Linked DNA regions of Homo sapiens: all the other regions are linked to region 4. Evidence: promoter capture Hi-C in human tissues and cell types (Jung and others, 2019). All regions are on one chromosome and are shown on one strand. The core of a region is centred on a gene start or on the middle of the fragment in contact, and the rest is flanking DNA. Distances in the headings are between cores, read along the strand shown. Region 1 has its middle 180 kb from the start of LINC02550. Region 2 has its middle 190 kb from the start of ARHGAP20. Region 3 has its middle 140 kb from the start of ARHGAP20. Region 4 holds the start of ARHGAP20 (Rho GTPase activating protein 20).

Evidence for each region. The method cuts DNA at HindIII sites, captures the fragments that hold promoters and counts their contacts. A contact is called where the count stands out against the background at its distance.
Region 1: a fragment that was not itself captured here is called in contact with the fragment with the promoter of ARHGAP20 in region 4 in 1 of the 25 tissues and cell types used here (IMR-90 fibroblasts).
Region 2: a fragment that was not itself captured here is called in contact with the fragment with the promoter of ARHGAP20 in region 4 in 2 of the 25 tissues and cell types used here (bladder and hippocampus).
Region 3: a fragment that was not itself captured here is called in contact with the fragment with the promoter of ARHGAP20 in region 4 in 2 of the 25 tissues and cell types used here (IMR-90 fibroblasts and aorta).

Annotation. Positions count from the first base shown.
Region 1 is chr11:110,916,012-110,919,015 of GRCh38, reverse strand. No RefSeq gene overlaps it. Among named protein-coding and RNA genes, the nearest start is that of LINC02550, 180 kb to the left of the region's middle. The HindIII fragment of the contact is 6,942 bases long and covers 1-3,004 here.
Region 2 is chr11:110,899,602-110,903,023 of GRCh38, reverse strand. No RefSeq gene overlaps it. Among named protein-coding and RNA genes, the nearest start is that of ARHGAP20, 190 kb to the right of the region's middle. The HindIII fragment of the contact is 5,275 bases long and covers 1-3,422 here.
Region 3 is chr11:110,850,505-110,853,429 of GRCh38, reverse strand. No RefSeq gene overlaps it. Among named protein-coding and RNA genes, the nearest start is that of ARHGAP20, 140 kb to the right of the region's middle. The HindIII fragment of the contact is 3,044 bases long and covers 1-2,862 here.
Region 4 is chr11:110,710,779-110,713,746 of GRCh38, reverse strand. ARHGAP20 (Rho GTPase activating protein 20) reads left to right here and starts at 1,310. Exons shown (of 15, transcript NM_001384657.1): 1 at 1,310-1,620. The coding sequence starts at 1,516. RefSeq lists silencers at 1,199-1,358, 1,379-1,438 and enhancers at 962-1,463, 2,446-2,968. The HindIII fragment of the contact is 8,017 bases long and covers 1-2,968 here.

The sequences.
Region 1 (3,004 bases), core at 207-2,706, 210 kb before region 4:
TGTTCCCCTTGATCCTTCCCTTAGGCTCATTTACCCACAAGGATGGTGGAGAGTAGGCTGCAATTCTTTGAAAACCTTCACTGAAAGTCAGGGATGGCAGAAGGAAAGCACAAAACAGACTTACTGTTGTGTGATGTTCAGAGCTGCTGGGCCCAGCAGGTCCTGAGCAAGCTCTTCCTGACTTTCTCTCAGCTGGCCACCATCTTGAAGGAATCGTCTTTCTTCTCTCCAGGGAAAATACCCAACAGTGTGTCTCCTAAAGAAAGGCTTAAGACCAACCTCCACCTCCACAGAGGAAGACGTACTCCCTGCAATCCTTGCCCACCTCCACAGTCTTGATTTCCTGTCCCAGGATTGACCTAGCCTTCACCAAGGGTAGATGTCAGCTGTGATTTCCATTTCCCTCAGAGAAGCTCCACCTCCACTCTCAGGGGTGTGGTCTTATCCTCTGGCTTCCATCAAGACAACTAAATTACCCAAGAACACAGCAGGTTAGCTTAGAACATTCCAGGCTAATCAGTCTTAAGAAAGACAAAGGGTTTGTTCTCAGCCAAGATACCATGGTATAGGAACTGTAATGAGCAAGGATTTATACACATAATTTTGATCCTGCTAACAGCATGGCAAGGTGAAGATAGTAAAACTCATTTTACACATGAGGAAACTGAAGTTCAGAAAGCTTAAAGAACAAGCCCAGGATCACTCAGCTGGAAAGAAGTGGAATCAGAATTTGAACTCAACTCAGCTTGAGATGTGACTTAAAATAGCCATTGTCTCTCCCTACTGTTACCTACCAGATACTCTACTGTCCGATTCCTTTGACTGTCCATTCTACATTGATACTTCTTTCCTTTCAGCTCTGTCTCCCTTTACCTAGCTGGAGTTTTCTTTGTCATAATCCTTCTCTTCTCTCCTCTCCTCTCCACCTCCTCCCTCTTTATCATCTTTCCTTCTCCTCTCCCTTGTCCTCCTTCATCTCCTAAATTTAGAACAAAGGTGGTATTTTCCTATCCATTTAGCAGTCTTACTTGTGAGAAGTGACTGGCAGTTTGATTAACGGGTAAGTGACTTGACTTTTCCTGGGAGCATTTTTGCTTTCCAAGGAGACCATTGTGGTTGTCACTGATCCCAGATCTCTGGCACAGTGTAATTTCTTCTAAAAATGTCAGAGTGCAAGGGCTATGTCCATATAAATACTAAAACTGAGCAGAAGTTACAGGTCCTTGGAGAAGAAAAGTTGTCTAATTGTGTGGCTGGTTTCCAAAATTCCCCTTGGTAATCCTTCCTTATGACTGTTTCTCTTTTACAAAAATACTTTCCAGAAGAGTTTGGAATTTGCCTTAAGAGGTGTCGGAGCACCTATCCCAAAACACACTCCAATAGCAAAGTTATCTGAAGCAAATTATTACTGGAGGCAGTGAGTGCAGGGCCTATATTCAAATGCTAAGTATGTGCTAACTTTGGTGGTCCTTTAAAGCCTCGCAGGAGAATATTAACTTTCCACATCTTTCAAAGTTACATTTTGTTTTTTGTTGTTGTTTTCAAATCAACTTGAAGACTAATTGTACAAGTAAAATAAAACAAAGAGCTGAAAAAAAAGTCTGGATAATTGGGTTAAAAACCCTACTACTGAAAGAAAAAAGGACAGGCACAGCCTCCACCAGACTGGCTTTTACTGCAGATCAAATTCCAGAAAGATAACTTATTTTTTCCCTATTCTGTTACATCTGGCACATTACTTAACCCTTCTATGTCCTTCCTGTGCCCAAAACGATACCAGTTACAATTCAGAGAGACAAGAATGCTTGGCAAATATCCTGAAAGGAAGGGCTCCTCCTCCTAGGACTTGCAAGTCTGGCCCCGTTCTGGCACTCTGGGAAGAGGTGGAGGAGAGAGGGTTTCTGTCTTGATTTCTAGAGTATTTGCCACTGATTTGGACCCATTGTTGACTGTTTACTTTTGGCTTCTTTTGCTTGAAGTTGAGACCTGGACATTCTGAAATGAAGAAACAAAGAAGGATGTATGCAGAAAGTAAGGAGTTAGATGGTGTGTAGGAATTATTATCATTGATTCTCTGAGCATAAGCCCTGTACCAGTGGGTAACTTGTGGTTTTATACTCAAGTATTTGTATATTCCTTGGCCATGGAAAAATTGTTATCAATTTGCCCCAGATACATGCTAGTCTTACATCTAGATTGATCTTCACATTTGCAGAGACAAGTCTTGATTGTGACAGTATAGGCCTTAAGAGAAAAAAAAATGCCAAGATTGTAAGAAATTCTCACTATAAAGGCAAATAGAATCAATCTTTTTTTCAACTGTATTGAGGTATAATTGAAAAACAAAAATTGTATATATTCAAGGTAAACAACATAATGTTTTGATATATGTATACACTGTGAAATGATTTCCACACTCAAGCTAATTAGCATACACATAACCTTACATAGTTACCTTTTGTGTGTGTGGTGCAAATACTTAAGATCTACTCTCTTAGTATACAATAGATTATTATTGGCTATAGGCACCTTGCTGAACATTAGGTGTCTAGAACTTACTTATTTTATTTTATTTTACTTTGTTTTGAGACAGAGTCTAGTGCTGTCACCCAGGCTGGAGTGCAGTAGCACGATCTTGGCTCATTGCAACCTCCACCTCCCAGGTTCAACTGATCCTCATGCCTCAGCCTCCCAAGTAGCTGGGACTTCAGGTGTGTGCCACTACATCCAGCTAATTTTTTGTATTTATTTTTTAGTAGAGACGGGATTTTACCATGTTGGGCAAGATGGTCTTGAACTCCTGGCCTCAAGAGATCCACCCACCTTGACCTCCCAAAGTGCTGGGATTACAGGGCATGAGCCACCACACCCAGCTGAACTTACTCATTTTATAACTGGAAGTTTGTACCCTTTGAACAACATCTGCCCATTTCCCCCAACCCCATCCCCTGGTAACTACCCTTCTTCCTTTTATTTCTATCAGTTCAACTTTTTTTTTTTTTTG
Region 2 (3,422 bases), core at 331-2,830, 190 kb before region 4:
GGGGTGGGGATTTTCAAAAAGATATAAAATGGCTCTTAAAAATAGAAGAAAGTGTTGTTAATTAGAAGTGCCCTTCCCCCTATATTGCAGACTACTTATTTTGGGTAGGATGGAGGGACTTTTTAGGAAGCTCATGTGGTTGTTTTAGTCTCCAGAAGCACATACTGGCCTGGCTTTGGGGACCATGTGATTCTTCAATGACTCCTGTTGCTTCCAAGGCCACAGAGTCAGAGATCTCCAATTTCAGGCCTCCCACTGTCAGAACCTGTCTCCTCGCCCCCAATCCTACCCCACCGCCCCAGGGTATAGGCAACTCCTCATTTCTTCTGGGCTGGGTCATGGCCTCTTCAGGCAGCCTCTGGGGAAGCTTTGGCAGTAACTTGGTCCTGTGATAGAGAGGTGTGAGAGTTCCTTATCGGGGACTGTTCTAGGCTGGGTTGTGTCTCTCTAAGTTTTATATATTGAAGTACTAACTCCTAGTACCTCAGAATGTGACCTTATTTGGAAATAAAGATGTGATTAGATGTGATTGTAGATGTGATTAGTGAAGATGAGGTCATACTGGAGTAGAATGAGTCTCTAATCCATTATCACCGGGATCTGTATAAAAAGGGGAAATTGGGACACAGACATGTGTAGAGGAAAGACAGTATAAAGAGACAAGGTGAGAACATCATCTCCAGGCCAAGGAATGCCTGCAGCTACCAGAAGCTAGGGGACAGGCTTAGAACAGATTCTCTCTCACAGCCCTTAGATGGAACCAATCCTGCCTACATTTTGATCTTGGACTTCTAGCCTCCAGAAGCAGGAGACAATAAATTTCTGCTTTGCAAGCCATCCAGGTTGTGTTACTTTGTTGGTTTGTTAAGAAATGAACGCAGGGAACTTTTCTCCTATTCCAAGTCCATAGAATCCCTTTCCGAGTCTTCCTCCACTATTGCCTAAATCTTCCCCTTCTAAAACTGGGCTGTCCTTAAAGGACCGTATTTGTACTTAGCTCAGGCCTCATCTCTCTCCTAAGGCGATCTGCATGGAAATTTTATATGTGGTTGTGAAATGTGGAGTCTTGTCCCCTGTTTTGGAAGCAATAAAACATGGAGGTCGAAAGCATAGGCTTGGCAGTCAGAAAGCACAGTGTTTAATAGCTTCCTGGCTGTTGGACTTTGAGAAGTTAAAGAAGCATGAACTTCTCATCTGTTAAATGGGGCACTAATGCTCCTCAACTTCTATGATTAGGTGAGATTGTAAAAGGAAGGCACTTAGCACAATTCCTGACAGATAAGCACCTCCATTAATGAGAGCTATTAAAAATAGTACCTATTAGGGGGAGCTTCAGGCATGGAGGAACAGGGGTGGGGGCGTGTGCATGGAGTCTTTTCAGCTCTCTGAAATTAGACTAGACAGCTGCCTACTCGGTTATGTAACTCTTGAGTCACATTTATAGTCTCCATTAAGCCGAATAACCACATGACCCCTGTGTGTCTTAGAGAATCTAAGAAAATATCAATTTTAACATGAAAATAAAAGGGTTTGCTGAGCCACAAGATGCAAATGATATCCAGAACCAAGTAATGCTGTCCCCTGCTTCTTCCAGCAGGGTGAGAGGAGTCAGCACATACAGGTCAGGTACCTAGAATCAGTCAAACCCAACCCTGAGGTGAGAAAACACAGCTCCCCTTCTATTCATCTGCATGACCATGGGCCACTGTCTTAGTCTCTCTGAGCTTTAAGTCCCTTACCTGTAAAGGGTCCTGGAGGATAGTGTTGTTGTTCACAAATATTTCCTGCTCTTCTCAGGGGATGTTACAATCTCTGACCCCAATCATATCTCAGTTGTCCCTATGACTTGCTTTGACCAGTGAAAAAGGAGGGGACATGATGGGTATGCCCTCAGGCCTCTTCTTACCTCTGTTATCATGGAAGCACCTGTCAAGATGGCACCACTATTAGCCTGGTCCTGAGTGTGTACAATAAGTAGGTCACCTTCGTGAACTATGACCACAAGCAATCAAACAACTTTGCTGCTTTAAGACCCTGAGATATTAGAGTTGTTTGTTTCCACAGCACAACTTAGCTCATTTGGACTGATATGGGTAGGAAGGCAGACATATGCTTCATGGGGCTCTGGGGAAAGGCTTTTCAAATATGAAGTGCCTTACAATTATAGGCCAATACTTGAGAGAAAAAGAAACTTTAATTCCCATGAATTATCCCCTACTCCTACCAAAACATTATGATTAATAATTAAATATTAGTTGAGGAAAAAACAAACAAAAAATCCCCACTGATCAGGCAAACTCCTTTCTCTCAAAGTAGACAGAGGAAAGAAGGAGATATGAAGCAGAATTATTGACAACAGACTTAAAAAGAAGCACCTTGGAAGCTTGCTTAAATCAGGCCGTCCTCCCACTGGCTGTCTCAAGTCTCTTACCTTCTGATTTTTGCCTTTTTGTGCATACTTCAAATGTCTAAAAGAGCTACTTGAAAATTGTATTTTTCTTTATATTTGAGAGGAAACCCATCAAATGTGCACATAAAGTCATAATGTTCCAGGTCATAGAAAGAAAGAAAAAGATAGAAATCAATTATTTAGAAGGCACTCATTTGTTTCCTGTAAAGCTTGTAATATGCATTATTTATTGTACGGAGAGAGCAAAAAGGGCTTTCTTATTCACGTGACAAATTCACCAATGACCCTAGAGGAAACTTCCGTTTTGTTGTCCTCAATGTAGAAAGTCTTAGCATAGGTCATCAAAGAAAAAAAAGGAGATAATGCCCAAAACACAGTTGACATAGTATTTCACTTTCATATTTATATTTGAATAGGTGAATGACAAAAATTCTGCTAATTTTCTTCAATCAGGTTAATTAAATCACACAGAAGACTTTACCCAGAAGTATCCAACCAACATCCTCATTCTACTCCTTGTTTGGTTATTTCCTGCTCCATTGCAAATGAACAACACTAACTCACAGATTATTATTTTTCTTAAAGTCCCTGAGAAAATAGAATTGCCTTTTTCTCTTTTGAAAAAATTCCTTCTATTTGGTTTGCACCTTTCTGGGACCAAGATGTTTGTTTTAAAATAGAGGCAACCTCAAGCCTCCTTTCCTTCCAATTCTTGCTGAGCTATGGGGTGAAATTGAAAAGAAATAAATGGTAATAATGTTAGCCAAGGAGGCTGCCATTACAGGGAAATTGGAACAAGAGAGATCTGGGGTGAAAAGAGGCTGAAGAAAGTACAGCTTAGAGCTGATCTGTTTTAGGACATCAGTCAGACCTGGCCAGAGCATTTGGAAATGTGCTACTTCTGGAATGAATAAGCCAGGACTTGTGGGGAGGTGTGGGAATTTATTGATTTGAGTTCTTGGGCCATCATCATTTTTCTTAAATTACTTTTTCGAGGTATTGCCCTTCTTGA
Region 3 (2,925 bases), core at 91-2,590, 140 kb before region 4:
ATGAGATTTATTCAATTGGCAGAAAAAAACACCCAAGCCCTTGTAACCAGGAAATACATGATTACGGCATTCAAAATTGTCATTTAATTTGTTTTAGTATTCAGCCTGCTCTTCTACGTCCAGAAATTCTACACTGAAGCAATAAGCAAATGAGGTCAATTCCTATTTATTGCAGTTTCATTGGATGTTTAGTATCTACTGGGGCTTCTTTTGGCATTGAGATGGCCTATGAGAAGACTGGACATGAGTGATTTAAACAAAAACAGGAAATCAGGGCCTCCCTCAGATCCCTGCTTATTGCCACATAGCTAGCCTTTCTTCTAGTACCCAGCTCTTTGCATGTCACATGATTACAAACATGGACAACTGGGCTCCTGCAGTAACAAGGAAGACTGAAGTTGGTCCTATGCAACATCACAGCCACCCATCTAATTGAACAAGGATACCAAGTTGCTTTTCTTACATGATGTTAAGCAGTTACGTGATTTTGCTTCTCACTTAGTTGACAGATTTAGAGGCTATTAGACAGAACTCAAATCCCAAGTCTCTTAATCCCTGATTTGTAACAACCAAAAAATGTGAGGCTTACTATTCTTTCTTTCTTTCTTTTTTTTTTTTTTTTTTTTTTGAGACGGAGTCTCGCTCTGTCGCCCAGGCTGGAGTGCAATGATGCGATCTCAGCTTGCTACAACCTCCGCCTCCTGAGTTCAAATGATTCTCCTGCCTCAGCCCCCTGAGTAGCTGGGATTACAGGCTCCCACCATCACACCCAGCTAATTTTTGTATTTTTAGTAGAGACGGGGTTTCACCATTCTGGCCAGGCTGGTCTGGAACTCCTGACCTCGTGATCCACCTGCCTTGGCCTACCAAAGTGCTGGGATTACAGGCATGAGCCACCATAACCTGCCCGAGGCTTAGTATTCTTATGGCCCCTTCCTTTATGCTTCCCAATGCCAACAAATCTGGCACATAAAACTACTATTAAAACCACTCAAATATGGTGCTTGTAGTAACAAGAAGAAATAGGTGGTTAACTCAATTTCTCCCTTTTAAAACAGCCTGCAGTTTATCCCATCTGATACTATACCACCCTGTTAAACTAAGGCTTTACCAAAATACTTAGCCCTCCTCCTAACACAGCCAGCCAATTCCCTCCCCACATGCAACCACCACCTTCATCCTTCTGTGCTCTCTCACGTTTGGTTCATTTCAGTTCAGTCTTTATCCATCCCTTATTCTGTATAGCAATGTGCGAAAGCTAAGGTCTACACCGACAGGCTAGTAGCTATGGTTCGGGAAAAACCACTTTCCTGGACCCACATGACAGATACTGAATTGAGACACTAGACAGCCAAAATGTACTCAGTGCCTGTTAATGACAAACACTTCATATGCGTTATCTGACCAGGTCCTCACAATAACCTTATGAGGATAAGAACAGGTTACCTCACATCACTCTGGCTAGAAGCGGACACAGGCCCACCTCTAAACCAATCCCCGGAGAAGGCACAATTGACTTATAAGATAACTAGAATCTATCGACAGGTACTTAGAAGGGAGTCTACTTCCTTCTCCTGAAACCCAGAATTATGTGGAGAAGGAATGCATTTTTTTTTTGAGATGGGATCTCACTCTGTTGCCCAGGCTGAAGGGCAGTGGCATGATCTTGGCTCACTGCAAGCTCTGCCTCCCCAGTTCAAGCGACTGGGAGTGCATTTCTAAACAAAATTGAGAATTTATTGGGAATAAGAAGAGAAGAATATAAGTGCTGGATCTGCTATACTCATCCCACACTGTCAATTTCTGCCTGTTCTATTTCTCAGTGTTTCTTATGTTTATTTTCTTCCTCCCATGCTCCAGTTTAATTAAATCCTTTGTATTTTTTTCCCTAGGTCACTATATTAGCATCAGAAATAGGTTCTCTGTCTTCAGTGTGTCCTTGAATCTGTACCAAAGGAAGCTTCCTAAGGTGCACTGTGATCAGCTGCCCCTTTCTGACACTCTTTCAGACATCCATGATCCCGGAGCTTCTCAGATCCATCCTGCCACCCATGAGAGACACCTTTTCTTTTTACTAATGCAAGCTCCTCAAATACCAGTGACTCTTCTGAGGAGCATGATTTGGAGAGATAAGGGATATATTTCATTAGAGGAGCCTTGTCCTTTGTTCTTGGATTATCTCTAACATAGGTGTAAAAAAACTATCTACTGCAAAGGTAAGTTAAGATACCTTGATTCATTTAAATTCTCTTCAAATCCATTCATTTACTCTTGTGGGATCTTGAATTCTCTTATTCTCTCTCTCTCTCTGTCTCACACACACACAGAGAGACACACACACACACAGAGCTGTGACTTGGGATGATGGAATAACGTAAAGAATACAGATATCAATCTGGCCACAAGAATTTTCAGGAATTTTGCTGATCTCATGACTCCCACCAACCGTCAGAGAACACACAATGCAATTATCTCTAGCCCGGGCATGTAAGAATTATGCTTTGATTTACTTTCCACAACCCCTCCCCATTTAGCCCCATCACTGCCCTATCTCACAATCTCTACAAAAACCCCACATCTCATGGAAAGCTGCTGAGGGAAATCAGGGGAGATGAGATGATTGAATCTCCATATGTGACCCTTACCACAGATTAGAAGGGTTCATTCTGGGGCAGGAGGGGAGGTTTTCTTCAGTGGCCTGTTTTAAGCGTGGAGCTAATAAATCATCTCCTATTAGGATCAAGGCACTCCAACTTCTTGGAAAGAGGGGTCAACATTCAAATCATTAGTTTCTTCCCTGATATTGGGAATCAGTAGATAAAGCCTACAAAGCAAACAGAGGAGAGGTAGAGAACTCCAATCTAAGGTAAAAGGGCATACAGGTTATACCAGTCCCAAGTATACTTATTTATTTAAAAAAAAATA
Region 4 (2,968 bases), core at 61-2,560:
ATTTATACGTGTGTGTGATTTATAAAGCCTATGTAAGCCTACTTTAAACAGTGTGAGGTGGACAAGGCTTAAAACGGGCTGGAACATTTTCCCCCTATTATTTCCACAATAAACCATTCCTGGGCATGGTGGTGATGTGTGCGCGCGCGAGTGTGTGTTGGACAGCATCCCTTCCTTGGAACAGAGCCGGCCAGAGCCCTATTCTTCTACAACCTGTCCTAATAACAGCCTAACCTGGCAGGAACCTCGATTTTTTTCTTCTTACCACAAAAGCAAACCAAACCCCTTCCACAACCTAATATCATAGCGTGGTGTCCTTCCTCACTAATCCGCCACTGCTTCTCTAGTCCTGACTCCAAGGGAAGAATGCCATCTACCGAATCATCCGTACCAGTCAACCAGCCCCGCAAAGTGCAGCAACACTCAGCTCAACGCGGGTCAGCTCCAAATCCTCTCCCTCTGATTATTCTTTGGCCTTTAAAATATTTTTGCCTCTATTTGGGCTGACAGGAAGTTATGCTCTCGGCGCAGATATCTGATAAACACTTCCACATATTGTAGCCTTCTCAATAGCTTAGCCAAATTTCGGCGTCCTCGCTCTGTCTGCATTTTCCTTCATTGCTCTTTCACGTTTGGAATGCCCCCGTCTCTGCAGCCTGCAGACAGCGGAAACCGCGGGTGCAAATGTGCAGGGGCCGCTGACATGACCGGCTGCAGAAGCCCACTCAGGGTTACCCGAACAGGCTAGCGTTCGGGATTGCACAAGAGGTCAGGCGATGCTGTGGGCTTCCAAATTTGTACAGCTGCGACACTCTGCGACGTGCCACCCTATCCCCAGTGGGGTGGGGTGGGGGATTCCCTCCGCAGTCCGCTGAAAGCGAGGCAGGAATCACTGCAACTCCTCTGCTCAGGCTGAGGTCGCCACCGCTCCGCGGATGCACGCGCTGCAGGGGCGCCTTCCGCCGCGGGCACGGCGCGGGAAGGGATGGGGTCTGGTGGGAGTGGGCAGGTGGCGGGAGAGGCGCGTGTCCGTGCACTAGAGGCCCCCGTGCGTGACACAGGCCGATGAGCTCCTGCGGGCTGCACCCACGCGGAGTCACAGACCGAAAAGGTCAGCCGGTGGCCGGTGTGCTAACATATATAGAGAGACGCCCGCCAGGCGCGCCGCAGGCTGGGACGAGGCTAGGAGGGCCCAGGCTGGAGGAGGGCTGAGGAGGGCTGCGGGGGCGGGCCCCGGCGCAGGGCGCCCGGAGCGGAGGGGGCGGGCCCGAGGCGGGGCGGGCCGCGGCGCTGACGGGCTGTCGCCGCTGCACTCGCCTCCAGCCCGCGGTGTCGAGCGCAGGCGGAGGTACATGGCCCCGACGGGAGGCGCGCGGCGAGCACCCGGAGCTCGGCTCCCTGCCTGAGCACGGCAGCCGCGCCTCCGCCCGCGCGTCCTCGCCCCTCCGGCCGGCAGCCCGCGGACATGATCGTGTAGCCTCCTCCTGGGCTGGGATTTGTTTGAAGATTTTCTTCATGGAAGCGATGTCCCCCCAGCAGGAGACTCTAGGGGGACAGCCGGGGCGCTCCTCTTCCCTGACAGGAGTGTCTCGGCTCGCGGGAGGCAGCTGCACCAAGAAGGTGAGGACGCTGAGCGGGGGCCCGTGCCCTCCGCCGCCGCAGCCCCCACTGCCGGCGCGCGCCCTCCGCGCCCGCCACAGCAGCGCGCTAGGCGGACGCCGCGGGAATTTGACGCTCGAGGCTCGCGGCCCCTAATGAGAGTCCCAGAACACTTCCCGCCCTTGACGGCCAGCGGCAGCGCCGCCGCCTCCCGCAGAGCGCCCGCTTCTCCGTTTCTAGAGCCTTAGTCTCTCCTCGAGCGACCTCGCAGCCTCCCTCCCGTCTCCATCCGCCGCCGGTTCTGCAGCCCGGCTCCTCCCTCAGTCTAGGCGCGCGGGCTGTAGTGGGCGATCGCCTTTCCCCGACCCCTCGCCGTGCCCCTGGGCCTCCCGAAGTGGCCTGGGCGAGCACTGACTGCCCTTTGGCGGTGTCAGCCCCAAAGTCAGGGCCGGCGATGTCTGCCCGGGAGCGGCAGCCGGCGCTGAAGAAGGTAGGCAGCGGGGCTGCGGCGCTGGTGGGCTCGGCCCCCTCACCTGCCCGCCGAGGCGCGGCTGCTCCATAGCAGTTTTCGGGGGGCAGATATGGGGAGTACTGCCCCCCACACCAGGGTCCTGGATGATTCCGGGTCTCCCAGGTGGGGGTCACAGTTTGAGGGGCGACTGTGGATGATAACGCTCGACACTACGGGGACATGTAGGTTCGGCTGGGCCTAGAACCGAGCAGGGTGGGGGCGGGTGGGCTGTGGTTGGGGGTCCTGAGGGCTGAGGTGGGGGACCTTCTCCCTGCACTGGTCCCTGGCCCCTGGGACTCTGGCCGGGCTGGATAGGGATCCGGGTGTCGGTGTGGGCGTGGGGGCAGCGCGTGTTCCCTGTCAAAGCTGGGAGAGGGATGCAGGTGACAACTTGTAGCGTTCCATTCCGATAAACACGGCCGCTGTGCTGCGGGAGGATTCCGATCCGGGTCAGGTTTCGCTGGAACGGTTCCCTGAGCAAGTGCACGTGGGCCGCGGGCTGCCGGCCTCTGCCGTTTCGCTCCCTGAGGAATTGATTTGGGTGTTTCTAGCCCTGTCTGCCTGTCCCCCGCCTCCCCACCCCCGCTTCCAGCATAAGACTTTCCGATATTTTGCCTTTTTTTTTTTTTTTGCCTTGTCTTAGTGGTGCCCTTCCAGCTTTTCTGGAAACAAGTTGCGATTAGAGGCATCTTCTAGCTTTTCCTTAAGAAATATCTTAAGGGATTGCATTTGTTTCATTAGAGACTTAAAGGGGTTACGCAGGTTCCCTGCTTGTCTTGATTTTACTGCCTTTCATAAATCTTCCCACCAGGATCTTAGGTTGGCTAGAGGTCAGTTGAAGAGAGGTGATCGGTGTGC